2 separate regions of the Homo sapiens genome follow, and region 2 is linked to region 1. The links are contacts of gene promoters, found by promoter capture Hi-C in blood cells and fetal thymus (Javierre and others, 2016). All regions are on one chromosome and are shown on one strand. The core of a region is centred on a gene start or on the middle of the fragment in contact, and the rest is flanking DNA. Distances in the headings are between cores, read along the strand shown. Region 1 has its middle 22 kb from the start of ESM1. Region 2 holds the start of GZMA (granzyme A).

What was found. Contacts are between HindIII fragments. The CHiCAGO score rates a contact against its expected background, and 5 or more counts as called.
Region 2: a contact is called between the fragment with the promoter of GZMA here and a fragment that was not itself captured in region 1, in 4 of 17 cell types (total CD8 T cells, total CD4 T cells, naive CD4 T cells and 1 more). The highest score is 7.2, in total CD8 T cells.

The regions. Positions count from the first base shown.
Region 1 is chr5:54,961,572-54,966,359 of GRCh38, reverse strand. No RefSeq gene overlaps it. Among named protein-coding and RNA genes, the nearest start is that of ESM1, 22 kb to the left of the region's middle. RefSeq lists a silencer at 225-519. The HindIII fragment of the contact is 1,747 bases long and covers 1,186-2,932 here.
Region 2 is chr5:55,099,706-55,104,493 of GRCh38, reverse strand. GZMA (granzyme A) reads right to left here and starts at 1,848. Exons shown (of 5, transcript NM_006144.4): 1 at 1,742-1,848. The coding sequence starts at 1,811. The HindIII fragment of the contact is 5,521 bases long and covers 1-3,368 here.

The DNA of each region.
Region 1 (4,788 bases), core at 810-3,309:
CCTTGAGTGTGGACTCAGCTGCCCTCATTTAGTCTTTTATGTGTTTTGAAGTAAGGAGAGAAAAGGTACGAGAAAGAGTCCGTTTCCTGGGGAGGAATTGGGCCCGGCATCGGGGTAAATCTTCTCAGACACATTGTTTACTGACCAGGAAGTTGGAATGTGTGTGGCTTTGGGATTTCTTTGTAGGGGGCGTTTTGTTTGTGAGTTTTGGAATGATGCACCTTGGGTATGATGAAGAGGACTTCACTCTATGCTGTGGGAAAAGTTTTGCCCTTAATGTCTTGAAAACATGAGCTTGTTTTTCTGAAAAAGCTGAGTACATCCTCATTCCTCATTGTCACAAACAATGTGACATGGACCTGGAGGCAGGCCAAGGTTTTCTATGAATAGAACTTAGCAAAGAGAGTGTTAGAAAGACTTTGGATTCACATGGCAATCCTGGATGCCTGATCCCTAGAGAGGAAATGATCTACCTGCCCTTCGAAGGTGGAAACTTCGAGGATCCCCTCTCATCCTCTTACAAGCCATGGCAACCACTGTGTTATGGCTGGCATAACATGCCTTCCACATGGCTGAGATGATGTTGGCTTTGCTGGGAAGCATTTGCTTTTGAGCTGTTTTTGCAGAACTAAGATGGATTTTGAAGGAGAGAATACATGTTAGAGAAAAGCTGGGGCACAGTTGATGGTGCGGAGCAGGGCAGTGCCATCTGGTTGGTCCTTCATCGTGCTGTGCAAATGCCATGCTTTTGTCTAGGCTTGTGTGATGGCAAGAAACAGAAAGCCAGTCAGAGGGGCCAAAGTTAAAAAAAGAAAAGTGGGTCGATGGGTAGTTTTGAGGATACAGAAAGCTTATGAAGTATGGCTGGTCCTATGGGAACTGGAGAAGTGACAACTCCTGTCTCTCCCTCTGTGGCCCAATGACCATATGACTGTTAGCTTCTTTATGCCAGGCCCACTCTCCTTTCTGTCCACTGGGCTTTTCTGCTTAACCATAATCTTAATAACAATAATCACATAATACCTATAATAATAGCTAACACTTACTATTAAATCTGCACAAGCTCTGTTCTAATGCTTCACATGTATTTGTGTGTTTAGTCCTCACAACAACCCCATTGAGGCAGGTACTATTTTTATACCCTTCTCAGATGAGTACAATGAAGCATGTGGAGGTAGAGAAGCTTACCCAGGATCATGTAGTTAGCGTGTGGCAGAGTTGGGTCTCAGACCCAGGCAATTTGGCTCTGTTTTGGTTTCCCATTACCTTAGCTTGGACAGGTGTTGCCTTGTTTCAGCAGTAATTTCTTTCTCAACTCCATATAACCTTTATATTTCTAGACTTCCTGCACATTGTTTGACTAAAGGATGACCACTGAGTATATCACTATAAATTTTTGAGAGAAAAATTCTACTTGGTAGCAGGTCAACTAATTCATCTTTCAAAAAAAATTCATCTATTGCAGCTCTTTCACTGTGTATTCCAGTTATTTTTTGGTGCTATGGCAACAGAAACCCAGTATAAAAACCATTTGATATGGTTAGGTTCTCTGTCCCCACCCAAATCTCATCTTGAATTGTAATTCCCAGGTGTTGAGGGAGAAACCTGGTGGGAGGTGATTGGATCATGGGGTAGTTCCCCCCATGCTTTTCTCATGATAGTGAGTGAGTTCCCATGAGAGCTGATGGTTTTATAAGTGTTTGGTAGTTCTTGTCTTGATTGCTTCTATTTCCTGCCACCCTGTGAAGAGGTGCCTTCTGGTGTGATTGTTAAGTTTCCTGAGACCTTCCCAGCCATGTGGAACTGTGAGTCAATTAAACCTCCTTTCTTTATAATTACCCAGTCTCAGGCAGTTCTTTATGGTGGTGTGAGAATGAATTAATACACCACTTAAGTTTTAAAAAAGGAATGTATTGGCTCACATTACTAAAATAGGTACAGCTGGCTTCAGCTTTGGCTGAATCCACAGGCTTCACTTACCTTGTCTGATTCCCCATCTCTCAGGAGAAAGTGGGTCTACTCTGGTGACTGTAGAACTTTCTCAATAGCTACAGCAGAAAAGTCCTAGAAAGTACTCTGGTGGGATAGTCTGAGTGACTAGGCCAGGACTGGGAGTGGGGATGAAGAATTGTCCATGGGAAAGAAGAGTTTAGATTCCAAAGAAACATGGAAAGAGTGATAGAATGAAGCATGGCAGAGACAATACCTGTTAATTCCAGAGCTCCCACTGTGACACAATCAGCTGTACCCGGGTATGAGGTAGGGCACAGTTCACATGGTACCAAATAAATTTAGGACAAGAAGGGCTATAGCCAGGAGGAAAAGTCGACCATAAGGGGGTATGGGTGGGGCAAATGTGTGAAAACATGCCTATCACAGCTGGCATGGATGTATCCAAATAGGTGAGTGCTGGGAAGTACATTGTGGCACCTGACCTTAGGAGGAAGAAATACATAGTTACTAAGAGGCAGAAATCTGGTCTGTGTTGCACGACTAACTAGGGGTGTGACATTGGGCAAGCAGCTCAATCTTTTTGGGCCTCACTTTGGTTATCTGTAAAATGAGGGGCGTGGTTAATTGACCTCAGAGGACCCCTTCAGTTACAAAACTCTATTATTCTATCATGTAGGTCTTGAATTATACTTCGTTCCTCTGAGCTACAGTGATCATCTCATTATTCTGATTGAAAGGCTGAGTCCAGGGAGGACTTGCGGGGTGGGGTGGACTCATGAGCATATCATGTAGTTGGCTTCACATGTAGCACAATTTGAGGACAACACAATCGTCACCTGTCCTTAAAATTTCTCCCTCTGTCTATCACAGTGCCTGAAGCCCCAGCATTGATACATTTTTAGGTTTTGAGTCACTGATCCAAGTTATTTCCCACTACACTTGTCTAGCTCTCTCTGATCTCACTGGCTTTAGTGAAGCTTGTTCTTTTGCTTATATTATCCTGACCCTGATCCATTGCTGAGTTCACTCTTAGCCATTCTTTAAATTTCAGTTCAGTTCTTCATTTTTAAAGGAACTGTTCCATGGTCTCTGGGACTCAGCTAAACCCCTCTCTGTTATGCTCTCCAAGCACCACGTTGCTTTTCTGCAGGCATCTATGAGAGATGCTATTATTTATCAATTGCTCACGCACTAGGTCTTCTCATAAGAGCATTAGCTCCAGGAAGATAGAAACTGCATCTGTTTTTGTTGACTGCTTGTCTCTAGGAAGTGGCACAGTACTTGGCATATAGTAGAGACTCAATAAATATTCATTTAATTTTTAGTTTTAAGGTGGCTTAAACACTATGGAATTTAGTTTTAAGGTAGTTTAAACATCAGGGAAAAAATTTTATATAGGAATGTTTCCCTTCTGTGGGTTTTTCCTCAACTTAGATTTCACAAGTGTGGTCTATGATTGGCTAAGAGCAATGATAGGTGATTGAAGAAGTTTCCAGAACTCACTCCCTTCCACTTAATCAAGAGCCAGCAGATGTGATCAGGCTTTTCTTCCTTGAGTTTCACTCCCTTCCTTACACACACACACACATACACACACACACACACATATTGGTTTACAGCCACAGTTCCTGGCTCATTACTCCCATAGCCCTTGTTCCAGTCTTTCGTTACACTGTTAGGTGTGTGAGGTCTCAGGGGCAGCCCTGGACCTTCTCCTGCCCTCCTTTCACCTTGCCTAAGGCAGGACTCTAATGTTCCCTGCCTTTCTGATTGTGGGCCTTAAGCCCCTCCCAAGAGAGGGTCCTTCCTTATACCTCAGGGGAAGGAATGCTGATGTCATGAAGCCTTCTTAAAAACCCAAGAGGACCAGGGTTCAGTGAGCTTCCAGATAGCTGAACATGTGGAGGTTCTTGAACCCAGGGCACCAGGTAGGCTCCATACCCCTTTCCCCATACCTTGCCCTACATGTGTCTTCATCTGTATCCCTTGTAATCCCCTTTATAATAAAGTGGTAAGTGTAAGTAATTATTTCCTTGAGTTCTGTGAATCCTTTCAGCCAATTAATCGAACTCCAAGAAGGAGTTTTGGGAACCTCAACTTGAAGCCAGTTTGTCAGAAGTTTCAGAGGCCCAGACTTGCGACTGGTGTCTGGGGGGTGTGGGGAGCAATGTTGGGGACTGAGCCCCCAACAGGCCAGATCTGACACTATCTCTGGGTAGGTAGCATCAGAACTGAATTGGAGGACACCCAGCTGGAGTCTGCTGCTTGGTGTGTAGGGAAAAACTCCACACATTCTGTGTTGGGAAGTCTTCTGTGTTGATGATTGTTGTTGTGGTGGTGTCAGAGTAGAGGGAAAATGCAGTTAGAAAGAGAGTTTTTCCCCATACACCCTTCAGTAGAAACCCCTAACTGTAAGCATATTGCAAGACCCAAAGACTCTATTAAGAGACCCCATATCCAACCTTCCTTTGGCAAGATCTGAAAACCAACCTGCCTCTTCTGCAGAAGGCTAACTTTCACAGTACCAGGGCATGCTTCCGAATTAGCTAGTGCTCAATGATCAGAGCTAGAGACTGGCTGTTGCTAATAGTGGCAATGAGAGGCAGAGCAGAGCCATCTTTTCATCCACACATCTTTGCACTACACAAAGACGAATCGCAACCTCCATGGATTCTTGAAACCTGTGACATGCCATTTAAAGAACAGACACCAGAGAATACAATGGTGTCATTTGGGTTTGTCTCATTTCCTTCCATCCTCAGATCTAGGAGGATATCAGGGAGATTGCAGATCTCCAATGGTGAAGGCTAAGTGGGAACGTTAGTCCAGGGAATT
Region 2 (4,788 bases), core at 599-3,098, 140 kb before region 1:
TGATGAGGGTAAGAGCAAGGAGGAGAGTGACCACATGAAATGTGGCTAGTGTGATTTGAAAAAGCAGAGGTCTCTGCTTTTAAAAAGGAAACTGGGAGGAAGAAATTCTAGGCTCTAGAAACAAAAGGGTAAAGAGCTTATAGAAACAAAAGACCTTCACCCAATCCCAATTTTCCTAGGGTGATTCATGTACAGATAGATTTCAACTGTGCCTTGCTTTGCTGTCTGTTCCTTATATGGGCCCACACTGCCCTCTCTGAACACAGGAAACAAAGAGGAGCACAGCAGGTTGCTTTTGTTGTTTTCCTTTGAAGAAAAGATATGGCTGGATTTATCTGCCCTGTGTTTTTCTGTTATGGAGGATTTAACATGCCTGAATATAGTCATACTATGCCCTGCTTATAACATAGCCAACCTTTGTCCCAAATGTCCTGCAGCCTTGTTATTTTTATATTTCTTCTCTCTCTCTCTCTTTTTTGTTTTTTTTTTGAGACAGAGTCTCGCTCTGTCACCAGGCTGGAGTGCAGTGGCACGATCTTAGCTCACTGCAGCCTCCAACTCTCTGGTTCAAGCGATTCTCCTGCCTCAGCCTCCTGCGTAGCTGGGATTACAGGCACGTGCCACCATACCCAGCTAATTTTTGTTTTTTTAGTGGAGACAAGGTTTCACCATGTTGGCCAAGATGGTCTCCATCTCTTGACCTTGTGAAACACCCACCTCAGCCTCCCAAAGTCTTCTCATATTTAGGTGCATAAACCAGATATGCACCTAAATATGATAAACCAGAGTTCTTTGGGAATTCCTGGCAAGGCAGGTTATTACATAAGTCCCTGCCTCCAAAAGCTGATGAATCCTGGGAAAAACCGTGGCTGGCTCCATATTGCCACAGCTTGAGAGTAGTCCTCACTTCCTAGCAGGTTCTTCAAGGGAAATCTAGAGCTCCCCAAGAGCTGTCACCCTTTCAGTGGTAATACCATGAATTATACAGCATTTTAACCCATGCATGCTCAACTCACACAAAAGCAGAAATATTGGTTACCATTTGGTAGACAAAAAATTAGCTTAATAAAAAATACTATAGCACACCCAAAGGGTTAATGAGGGAACTGGCCTCACGCCTTAATTTATTGCCAAAGAGTCTCTAGACCAGAGAAATAAGTATAAAAATTCTAATAATTCCTGATTCACTTTTGGTGTCTAGGTCAGATTTGTCTTAATTGTCTTTATCTATGCATTTTCTGCAGCAGGAAAGGCTGAGCTGACTAAGTTGCCACTATTCCTTTCCTGGAAGGTACTATTTGTTTTACGAACAAGAGAGTTTTGTTAACTCATTTTTACATTGTCCTTTTTGGCAATTTTCAAGTTACAAATTGGCAGCAATAAGCATTGGTGGTTCTGCTATCTTTTGCAAAATAATTATGAGAAGAAAAGATTTTTTTTTCTAAAATACAGACATATTTAAAATCCAAGAAAGAATGCTATTTAAAAAAAAAAAATAGAGACAGGGTCTCACTATGTCGCCCAGCCTGGACTCAAACTCCTGCGCTCAAGTGATCCTTCCACCTCAGCGTTCCTAGTAGCTGGGACTACAGGCATGTGCCATTGTGCCTGGCTAAACATTATAAGGCTTGGGGGAAAACATCTTCTTTCAGTATAGGAAGGTAATATTGCCAAAAGTTCATTGAAAGTCTGCTCCATTTTGCTTCATGGTCATAATGGAAATGAGAAGAATCAGTCTTACCTTCAGGAATTAGCAGGAGAGAAACGACAACTGAGAGAGAGGATGCCAGAAATCTATAGGAGTTCCTCATTGTGGCTGCTGTCCCACATCAATCAACCTGAAAATCTGTTTTCAGTTCTTAACTGCCTCTATCTATATACTGAGAGTAAAAAGGATGTGGTTTCCTTTCATTTTTTTTTTCAAGTTTCAAAGTTTAGCATTAGGAAACCAAATCCAAATAAGTGAGAATGGTGGATGATGGCTCACTGCCAGCAGGCAGGCTTTCCTTTGCTAGGACTGCTGAGGGGGGCGCTGGAATTCTACAGGGTAGGAGAGGGGCAAGGGACCTTGTTGCCATCAGAGTACACCAGGGAAGACTGTAAAGTGTCTCAGCTATGATTTTGAAGACGCTTTCATCATCTGCAATATTATCTGTAGTATCCATGACTGGAAACTCTCGAAGACTTAAATTAGAATTTTAATAAAAGTCCTCAAAATTGGTCACCAATCAAAATTCTTTCTAGCTGTCTCCTTGGGTTATATAAGAATTAGCAGGCCAAGTGCAAGCTGAGGACAGGAGGGAGATTTATTTACATAGAGGCTCCTGCCTGGATTTTCCTTCCCCACTTTGTGGTGAGTGTTTATTGTGCTCCTGCCTGGTCTGTGGCAGGTGTGGGAACATGGGCTGGAGGAGGGTAGGGGCTCTTGGCCCTTTTCAGCCCTCTGATTGTGCGTTCCTGATTGTCTAGTTTCACAACTTTAGATACTGAAAGTATCTCCGAGTTTCCCTCCCTCCCCGCCCCCCCCCGACCCCTGCTTCCTGCCTTTCTTCCTTACTTTCTTCTGAACAGGTTTAGGTGAGAAAAGAAGTGGGAGTCATTTTTGTTCCAATGTTGGGGAATGTCTCACTCTAAGAAGAGTCAACCTCAGTCCCTGGAGGAACAGTATGCAGTGTGCTTTCTATTTGAAATGAGTTCAGCTCTTTTTCTGAGCTGAGGATGTGGTCTCCGATACAATATACATGGTCAGATGTGCTGTCAGGATGTTGGGTACTGAACCAACCATCCCCATAGTTAACATCCTGATGACTTCAAACCTAGTGGTTACTTCTTTAGAAATCAAGTGACCTTAGAAGGGAGCCCTGCTGAGACCCCTGCATTTCTTTTTCTCAGATATTACAAGTGTATCAAAGGTTAATCATTTTCAGTAACAGCAGTGAGGACCCTGCTATTGGTTTTGGTGAGTAATTTTAGTGCAGACTTAAAAAAGTCAAATTGTAATTAACTACACCTACTGAAAAATTCTTAAAACATTGACAATTTTGTTTATTTTTATGTGAATGGTTGCTCTTCCATTTATGTTGACTTCTAACAACTTTATGAGACATAATTCACACACCATAAAGGTCACCCATTTAGAGTGTATGAGTCAATGGATTTTAGTATATTTGCATAGTTGTGCAGCCATTACCAGTACCATGCTGTTTTGGTTACTGTAGCCTTGTAGTATAGTTTGAAGTCAGGTAGCATGATGCTTCCAGCTTTGTTCTTTTGGCTTAGGATTGTCTTGGCAATGTGGGCTCTTGTTTGGTTCCATATGAACTTTAAAGTAGTTTTTTCCAATTCTGTGAAGAAAGTCATTGGAAGCTTGATGGGGATGGCATTGAATCCATAAATAACTTTGGGCAGTATGGCCATTGTCATGATATTGATTCTTCCTATCCATGAGCATGGAATGTTTTTCCATTTGTTTGTGTCTTCTTTTATTTCGTTGAGCAGTGGTTTGTAGCTCTCATTGAAGAGGTCCTTCACATCCCTTGTAAGTTGGATTCCTAGGTATTTTATTCTCTTTGAAGCAATTGTGAATGGGAGTTCACTCATGATTTGGCTCTCTGTTTGTCTGTTATTGGTGTATAGGAATGCTTGTGATTTTTGCACATTGATTTTGTATCCTGAGACTTTGCTGAAGTTGCTCATCAGCTTAAGGAGATTTTGGGCTGAGATGATGGGGTTTTCTAGATATACAATCATGTCATCTGCAAACAGAGACAATTTGACTCCCTGTTTTCCTAGTTGAATACACTTTATTTCTGTTTCTTGCCTGATTGCTGTAGCCAGAACTTCCAACACTATGTTGAATAAGAGTGGTGAAAGAGGGCATCCTTGTCTTGTGCCAGTTTTCAAAGGGAATGCTTCCAGTTTCTGTCCATTCAGTATGATATTGGCTGTGGGTTTGTCATAAATAGCTCTTATTATTTTGAGATACGTCCCATCAATACCTAGTTTATTGAGAGTTTTTGGCATGAAGGTTGTTGAATTTTGTTGAAGGCCCTTTCTGCATGTATTGAGATAATCATGTGGTTTTTGTTGTTGGTTCTGTTTATGTGATGGATTATGTTTATTGATTTGCATATGTTGAACCAGCCTTGCATCCCAGGGATGAAGCCAACTTGATCATGGCGAATAAGCTTTTTGATGTACTGCTCGATTTGGTTTGCCAGTATTGTATTGAGGATTTTCGCATCGATGTTCATCAGGGATATTGGTCTAAAATTCTCTTTTTTTGTTGTGTCTCTGCCAGGCTTTGGTATCAGGATGATGCTGGCCTCATAAAATGAGCTAGGGAGGATTCCCTCTTTTTCTAGTGATTGGAATAGTTTCAGAGGGAATGATACCAGCTCCTCTTTATACATATGGTAGAATTTGGCTGTGAATCCATCTGGTTCTGGACTTTTTTTGGTCGGTAGGCTATTAATTATTACCTCAATTTCAGAACCTGTTATTGATCTATTCAGAGATTCAACTTCTTCCTGGTTTAGTCTTGGGAGGGTGGATGTGTCCAGGAGTTTATCCATTTCTTCTAGATTTTCTAGTTTATTTGCATAGAGGTGTTTATAGTATTCTCTGATGGTAGTTTGTATTTCTGTGGGATCGGTGGTGATATCCCCTTTTTCATTTTTTATTGCATTTATTTGATTCTTCTCTTTTTTTCTTTATTAGTCTTGCTAGTAGTCTGTCATTTTTGTTGATCTTTTCAAAAAACCACCTCCTGGATTCATTGATGTTTTG